2 separate regions of the Homo sapiens genome follow, and region 1 is linked to region 2. Evidence: promoter capture Hi-C in 16 types of primary human blood cells and fetal thymus (Javierre and others, 2016). All regions are on one chromosome and are shown on one strand. Each heading gives the region's core, a stretch centred on a gene start or on the middle of the fragment in contact. The rest is flanking DNA. Distances are from core to core; before and after follow the strand shown.

What was found. Contacts are between HindIII fragments. The CHiCAGO score rates a contact against its expected background, and 5 or more counts as called.
Region 1: a fragment that was not itself captured here is called in contact with the fragment with the promoter of TMEFF2 in region 2 in 1 of 17 cell types (endothelial precursors); the score reaches 6.7 in endothelial precursors.

Annotation. Positions count from the first base shown.
Region 1 is chr2:194,816,313-194,820,467 of GRCh38, reverse strand. All of the region lies in intron 3 of LOC105376755 (a long non-coding RNA gene), which reads left to right. Among named protein-coding and RNA genes, the nearest start is that of LINC01790, 88 kb to the right of the region's middle. The HindIII fragment of the contact is 833 bases long and covers 2,070-2,902 here.
Region 2 is chr2:192,192,165-192,196,432 of GRCh38, reverse strand. TMEFF2 (transmembrane protein with EGF like and two follistatin like domains 2) reads left to right here and starts at 1,500. Exons shown (of 10, transcript NM_016192.4): 1 at 1,500-2,080. The coding sequence starts at 1,909. RefSeq lists an enhancer at 979-1,554. The HindIII fragment of the contact is 4,792 bases long and covers 1-2,425 here.

The DNA.
Region 1 (4,155 bases), core at 1,237-3,736, 2.6 Mb before region 2:
CAAACACACACATATACATACACAAGGTAAGCCTAGGCACCCATTTTTTTCTTGGATTTTTGAAGGATTAATTATAATTTTTAAAAAGAACGTCTATTAACCTGTGGACTTTAGCCTAATAGCATATCTGTTGCTTCTGCTTTTATAGGGTAAAATTATTGAAGACATGTAGGACCATAAATGAAAATGTATCATTAAAGGGACTGACAAAAGTAGAAACACTTACTTAAGGAGTTAAACAGAATTTCAAGAAGTGACTTTTGTAATTGTACTTCTCTAGTTGGTTTTCTATGTTTAGCCATAATACCTGTGTTTCATTTATTATCTTACATCATCTATGTTTATAGTAAGACTGATCTTTATATTATCTGTCTTTATCACTTCTTACCTATGAGGACATGAACTGTGTTGGTCCTTTGTAAATATTAGTGAAAGACCTGAAGCCATTTCTTAATACATTAAATCAGTCTGTTCTATTTCCTTTCTTTCCTGCATGTGTTTAAATATATTCTTCTATGTTTTTCTTAGTATAGAATATGTGCATTAAATTAGTAAGGATGTAATTGCTTAAGTTTTCTGAAAATGTTATTCTTATTACATTTAGAAAGCAATGTAATGTAAAGTCATTAAATAAATTCTATGTATGTTCTGTTTCCTGGTCACATTTGCTTTTAGGTCTTTAAAAAAAACCTCTTAACTATTTGATGAGAGATTTACATTATAAACTGAATTCAATTCTGGAACTACTACAGAACACTTTGTGATGGAATATTGCCAATATAGTATCCACATTTGTTGACACAATATAGACAGCAAAGAAGGAAAAAAAAAAGAATCAAAAACAATTATTGTTAATCCTATAGTTTTGGTATGAAGTCTTTAGGTGGCACTGTGGTTCCAGCAGTAAATCATTTAACATCAAAGAGCCTTCTATTAGGACTATGATTAAACAACTCTGCCACTGATTTTGTATTTAATTTTTATAATTATGCCTTATATTTATAGGGCTTATCCTAATTTATAGAATGTTTTTCTCATATGTTACTTCATATTATTTGTAAAACCAGGAGCAAAGCAAAATACCCCTTTTATTCCTCTTTGACAGATGACAAAAAGAAAAGATTCAGGGGAATGAAGCCATTTTTACAGGCCCTATCATGTTCTGTAGTATATTTTGAAAAAGAATTTTTAACATTTCTTCCCGGTCTATCTCCACCTCACTGTCATAAGTTTTCTCAGGTCTTCCCATCTCTAACATGATTGACACTAACTTCAGTGACAGTGAACACCTGAAGGTATTAGACATGGCGCAATCACTTGGATGATGTTTCTGTTGAACAAAGGGTAGTAAAGGTGTCAATATGCTGTGGTTCTTTTAATTTCTTTATGTCTTTATTCTCTTATGAATCTCTCTTCTTATCTACATAGGACATAAAACTTGAATAAGCATTACAGTAATTAATGAACATGGGGCATAAAATTTAGAACTATATGCTAGGTAAGATTTTTTACATAGACCAAAGGAAAAACACCTAAGGATATAAGCCCTTTCTATAGTAGTCTTCTAAAAATATATCCTCTTATATGTCCTCAGTTTCTAAATTTAATACCCTATTAAGAGTTTTTGCCTATCTGTAAAAATTGTCTTCTTCCTTAAACTTTGAATGTACAATCTCCAGCCAACTTTTCAGAAAACCTAACTACTTATGTAGTTTGTATGGGTCCCAAATTCATCCCCAGCAATCTATTTTTCCACATTTGACATATCCAAGCAACAAAATATATCCAGAGTTCCAGCAAGAAATTCTGGGTGGCCCACAGAGCAGTTCATTAGACATTCCCAGGGCTAGACATTCCCAGGTCTATGATCTTTCTTCTGCAAAACATTCCCAAGTCTATGCTCTTTGTTACTTCATTGGAATAGTTGCAGTCATATAAATATGACTCTCTGTTTCTCAGTTAATAACTTAAATAAGACACAAACTTACATTTTTCTGCCCCAACATACACATTTATTTCTTCCAGGACAATAACAGATATTAATTCTGAGACACAGTTCCATCCAAGCTTTCTAAGAATGAGGGGACTATTCTCCTAATTGCCCCATGGTTTGCCAGGCTACAGGTCTTCTATGGAATTAGTGTTTCACATTATTAAGTAGGGAATCATCTACTTTCAAACTTTGCTCCTTTGCAGAGAATAAGATTTGATTTCATGCTTATCCATATGTTCTTAATAACTGCTTCCTTGACTTGTAAGATAAGACTAAGTTTTCCTGTTTACTCAGATTCTTCTAAAAGTCTCTTCTCCAGTTTGGAGAAAGGAAGAAAGTACATTGTTCCATTTATAGTTAACTAGTAGATTGATTGCAAATATCCATTTTGGAAAAGAGAGACAATGCCATTTTTTTAATGTTGCTTTATAGCTCCTCACTTGATTCTTACCTTTTCTCTGCACCTATGCTATGTGATATAAAGATTTGCTCTAAAATGTAGATTGCTTATCAATAAATGTTAAAGGAAGAGCAGAGCCTTTAATCATGAAGAATTCAGGGTTGGGGCAAAAGTAGAGCTAGAGAGATGGAAATTTGTGCCTGGTTAACTGGTACCAAGTAACATATTAATTTTGCAAAACCCATCAGATGTCAAAAGATATGATTGAGTGACCTCTAATTTCTCTATGCCTTGTGTTTAATTTTCTTAATGTTCTTAATCTCATGTTTAAGTCTAAGTTATATTTATGCACTCTAATATCCAGAATTTTATCTTTCTTTTTCCTCCAAAATTACTCCAAGGTAATTTTTAGCATCTTACATTGAGAGAGTCTTACTTGTCTAGTGTTAAAGGAAAACATTTACTTGTATTCAAATTATTTTTTGGATGTATGTAACTCAAACAAAGCTTGTACTAACAAGGTAAAAATATCTTTAGGTTTCACCAGTCTTATTCTTGAAATTCTTATGAGCGTATATGTATATTTCTTGGAAAGTGAGCAATTAATAGATGTGGGCATAAAGAATCATTAAAACAATCTAACAAAAAGGAATGTAAGCAAAGAAATAAGAACCCACAAAATAACTGTTTTATGATAGAGGGATATCCATTTTATACATAAAAAGCCTTCTTTTCAATAAGGAAGTCAACTGCTTCCACGGTTTTCATCACATTTTCTACATGCTTACATCTCTAAAAAAAATTCACAATGTAAGAAATTGTAGTGGAAACATTTTCCGTTGTAAATACAGAAGAAACAGGACTCATATCTTATCTTTCAGATAATATAAATATTCGTGGATGTGAGAATTATAGATACATAGGAGATCTTTAATATATTGAAATATATTGACATGATTAAAATATGTTGCTTCTCTGTATTGTCAGGAAACATATGTTATTTTGACAAGACGAGACATATTTGCAATATTGCACATAAACCCAAATTTCAGTTTTCAAAGTTTCACTTTGATGAAAATTATTTTTCTTAAAAAGTATGAACATTATATTTTGAATTTGGGGGCAAATAAAAGAAAGTGAAAATTTCATCAAGACAACTAGATTAATGCCAAATAACTTACAGAAAAATTAAAGAATACATGTAAACATGTATATAATGTTAGAGAATCTATAAATATATAAAAATAAAATGTATATACATTATTGTGTAAAAATTATTTCTTCTTTGTTGGTGTTTATTTTAAATGAATGAAGTCAATGTCTGTCTGTACTCTCAGTGTCAAGGACAATGAGAATTGGAGTCATAGAGAAGTGAATTTCAGTCAAGGCTCTTATATTTTCCAGTTAAGTATTTTTAAGCAAGTGATATGGTTTGGTTCTGTTTCTCTACCCAAATCTCACCTTGAATTGTAATCCTCATAATCCCTATGTGTCAAGGGCAGGACCAGGTAGAGGTAATTGAATCATGGCAGTGGTTTCCTCCACGCTGGGCTCATGATATTGAGTAGTCTCAGGAGATCTGATGGTTTTATAAGCCTTTGGCATTTTCCCTGCTTGCACTCATTCTCTCTCCTGTTGCCCTGTGAAGAGGTTCTTTCTGCCATGATTGTAAGTTTCCTGAGGCCTCCCCAGCCATACATAACTGTGAGTCAATTAAACCTCTCTTCTTTATAAATTACCCAGTCTTGGGTATTTCTTCATA
Region 2 (4,268 bases), core at 251-2,750:
ACAGAAAGAGGGGCACAAAAGGAGAATTTAAATAGAAAAAGGGAGGATCCGGAGGCTTTTGAAAGCGGGGGGAGAAGAAGGAGGAGGGATAACAGAGAGGAATAGAGAAGGAGAGCGGAGAGAAGATAAACAAAAACAAAAACAGGAATCACTGAATAATCACACACCAAAAAGAAAGCTCTTCCCTATGGGGCATCCAAAACACTGAGACTGCAATAGTGACCCCGGTCATGGAAGAAAGATGTTCCTCTCCACCCTTGTCCCCGAAAGCTCTTGGTCCCGTTACTGGCGACTAAAATTCCATTAGGCTAAAGAGTGTGTCTAACTGCCTGAAGAATGCAGCAGACGGAAGGCGGGTCCCGCTATGCCGTTTGCCCTTCCCGCTGGAGAGAATGAAAGAAACGCGCAGAGCCAGAGACTCCTGCCGAGTTAGACCTTCTCTCGTCGCCCCAGGTCACCGGCCATCCGGCAAAGACCCGAGTAAGGAACGCAGGGTCACTGCCTGGGCCAACAAATGGAGCCCGCTCTCCCCTTCCCGGACGCCGCTGCCCGGCCGATGCTCCCGGCAACCCACCCGCGGCGTATGCAGAGGAGCCTTTCTCTTTCTCTCAGACCACTTGTCCCGACCAATCTGACCTTCCAAACACATCTGACCGCACCTCCCAGGTGGACACACTAATAGGCTACGGGCTGGAGAGGAGCGGGTGATGAGGAGAGGGATTCAAACCTGCGAACGCTTGGGCTGGGTCGGAGCTGCGGGGGGCCTGGGAGGAGAGAGGGGAGAAGAGAGAAGGAAGGAGAGCGCCTGCCGGGATGGCTGAGCTGCCTCGGCGAGCAGCCTTGGGGTTGCACGCTCTTGTGGGAGATGCTGCTGTTGCTTCCAGGTCGGCAAGAGCGGTTCTAACACCATCGCCTCTCACCCTCTTTCCTGTAAATCCCTAGAGAAACGTCCCTGGCCTCTCCGCCGCGACATTCCCAGCCTGCATCCCCCTACAGCCTAGGCGGCGCGCTCCCGCACGCTGGAGCGCCGGTCGCCAGCAGGACGCCCTCTCCCGCGCCGACTCGCCCCTCTCTGCCCTGCTGCTGCTGCTCCTCTGACACCTCCGCCCCCACCATCTCCAGCTCGGAGAGACGCCACCCAGCCGCGGCCCGCACTCGCGGCCCGGGGTCACGCGCGGAAGAGGGGCGCTAGTCCGGACCCCGCCTTCGGTAGGGGGCGTCCTGGAGCGGAGAGTGAGGCGAATGGTATATGAGTGTGCGGGTAGCCCACCCTGAAGCCCGAGCTTCTCATTTGAGCCATCCCCGCCTAGCCCCACTCGGGCCAGCGCCTGGCGAGCGAGCCCATCTGTGGCTTCCGCGGCCGCCTCCTCCTTGCATCCTTGCACCTCCTCGTCGACCCCTCCCTCCCGGGACCTGCATCCTGCTCCACCAATCAGAGCCCGACTGCCTCTTCCCACGTGACCCCGGGCGGGCTGAGGACCTGCTGCTTCCCAAACGCCAGAGGGATGCGGGCGGCAGAGCTCGAGAGGCGGCTGCCGGGCTGCGGGGCGCCTTGACTCTCCCTCCACCCTGCCTCCTCGGGCTCCACTCGTCTGCCCCTGGACTCCCGTCTCCTCCTGTCCTCCGGCTTCCCAGAGCTCCCTCCTTATGGCAGCAGCTTCCCGCGTCTCCGGCGCAGCTTCTCAGCGGACGACCCTCTCGCTCCGGGGCTGAGCCCAGTCCCTGGATGTTGCTGAAACTCTCGAGATCATGCGCGGGTTTGGCTGCTGCTTCCCCGCCGGGTGCCACTGCCACCGCCGCCGCCTCTGCTGCCGCCGTCCGCGGGATGCTCAGTAGCCCGCTGCCCGGCCCCCGCGATCCTGTGTTCCTCGGAAGCCGTTTGCTGCTGCAGAGTTGCACGAACTAGTCATGGTGCTGTGGGAGTCCCCGCGGCAGTGCAGCAGCTGGACACTTTGCGAGGGCTTTTGCTGGCTGCTGCTGCTGCCCGTCATGCTACTCATCGTAGCCCGCCCGGTGAAGCTCGCTGCTTTCCCTACCTCCTTAAGTGACTGCCAAACGCCCACCGGCTGGAATTGCTCTGGTAAGTCCAGAACCCCCGTCCCCGACCCTTTAACTCCGCAGAAGAACACGCGTATCCAGCACAGACCAGCCTACCCTAGCGCGCCTCCTCAGCCCCTCACCTCCTACTGCCCTAGACCCCTAATACCACCCACCTCTATCCAGAGAAACAAGGGGAACTGTTGCAGGCCCGGGGGTGAGGGGTGGTTCTGGGATGGGCAGAAAGTGCAGGTGTAGCAGGAAACCTTTGCATGCTTGCGCTTACATTGGAGCTGCGAGGATTTTGAGAAATATTAAACGGGATGGTTTTCTGGGTTCACTGTTTTGAAAGAGCACCAATCCTAGGGGAAACACTGAAACAGAAGCTTTGTCATCATTAAAGAAAAAAGTCTTACTAGGATGAGGAAGAAATAACTTTATGAGAAAGAATGAGCGAGAAAGCAATAAATCAAATGGTGACTGCAGGGGAATCGCTGATTCCTGGCAAAGGTGCCATGAGGTCGCACTGGTCTCCCGTTGAAGACCAGGTCACACAGATTCTAGAGGAGCTGGGTTTCAATAGAATTTCTCTCTCTCTCTCTCTCTCTCTCTCTCTCTCTCTCTCTCTCTCTCTATCTATCTATCTCTCTCTCTCTCTCATTCCCTTCTCTCCTAGGCGGCAAAAGACATTGGTTTTGCAGTCCAGATATGCCCCTCTCTTTGCTTCCCTAAGCTTCAAGGTAGTACAGGGGAGTTGAGAAAAAGAACACTTTGCGGGTCTCCCAGGCCGGAGTGGGCATGACTGAGGCTGGTCAGGCTCCATGTAGGCGAGCCGAGGGCGGAACCGACTTCAGTGGGCGCTGACTCCTCCATTTCTGGACAGGCTTCTGTGGAGTGGGTCAGGCACTCTTCTTGCTCGCTCGGGTTCCTTCAGATTCTGACGGCGAACGCTTGGCAGGCTTCGCTCTGCTGAAGCTTCCTAATTAAATAGGGCCAGAGGATGGGAGTTGCTGCACTCCTAGCTGGCATAGCATTTCGGTTTGACAGCCTGTAGTATACTGGGCAGAATTGTGGTGTAATTTCCTTGGCATTTTAAACTCCGTTAACATGCCTGGGTATTGTCCCCTAGGTGTGGTCTGTTCTAGTTTTAGCAAGTGTGTATGTAATTTTTCATCTTCTGTGAATATAATTTTGCTGTAGTTAAATCTGGCTCTGAATAAAGTGTCTTTCAAAGATGTATATAAGCTGAAGTGTATGTAACTTTAGAGAGGAGGGAATGACCAACTGTAACTCAGGGTGAAAGCCTGTATAGTTCCTAGTTATTACTGATGTAAATGCCAAAAGGAAAATTATTATGCATCATTCTAATTTATCCTTTACAAAGACAAGTTGAGATATGCAACCCTATTAGATTTGGGTCAATAGATTGTTCTCTTTTTTGGCAGTTTCTAAATTTGGCATTTTAATAAAACTCAACATGTTTCTATAACTTCTTGATTCATGCGTACATGTGTGTTGTTTTTGAAAGAATAAGTTTCACTTTGCTATTGCCTAATCACTTTTTAGATGCTTTATTATGGTAATAATTATGAGCCTGCAAAAACAATTTTTGGAAATGTTGATGGCTTTGTAGTCCAACACAGACTGGTTTGCTTCATTCCTAGCCCTTGCATTGTTTTAGGAAATAACTAACTTAAATGTGAAGTTGACATTTGCAATCAAGAAATTACATATTTACCAGATATTTTAAAGGGGACTGCATAAACTAAAGAGAATAAACTGGTTTTGCAGATAGGTTGTCAAGAACTTGGCACCCCGCTTCCACCCCTGTTAACTTAGAGGTGATCAATCTTCATTTGAGCCAAACAGACCATCACAGAAAACACTGTGCCTGTTTATCTTTATTATTGAGGCTTTGTTTCCTCTTTGTCTGGATACATTTCAAATAAGGGGTTGTTTCAGTCGTTGAAGCAAAAGAACAATTAAAGATGGGGAAATGGTAAAAGGGTATTCAGAGATCATCACTAGCTCTTTTCCAAAATGTGGAGTTTTGTGGTCATAAATATTGTCCACCTAATGAGCAAAAAATAAAAATAAAAAAAAAACAGGAAGCAAATGTTAAGCTTTCATTCACCACTGTCAGTATTAACGCAAGCTTTAAAAAATAGCACTATCAGAAAAGGATACTAAAGGAGAATTGACTAGAAAAGAATTGTGGAAAATGGAAACGA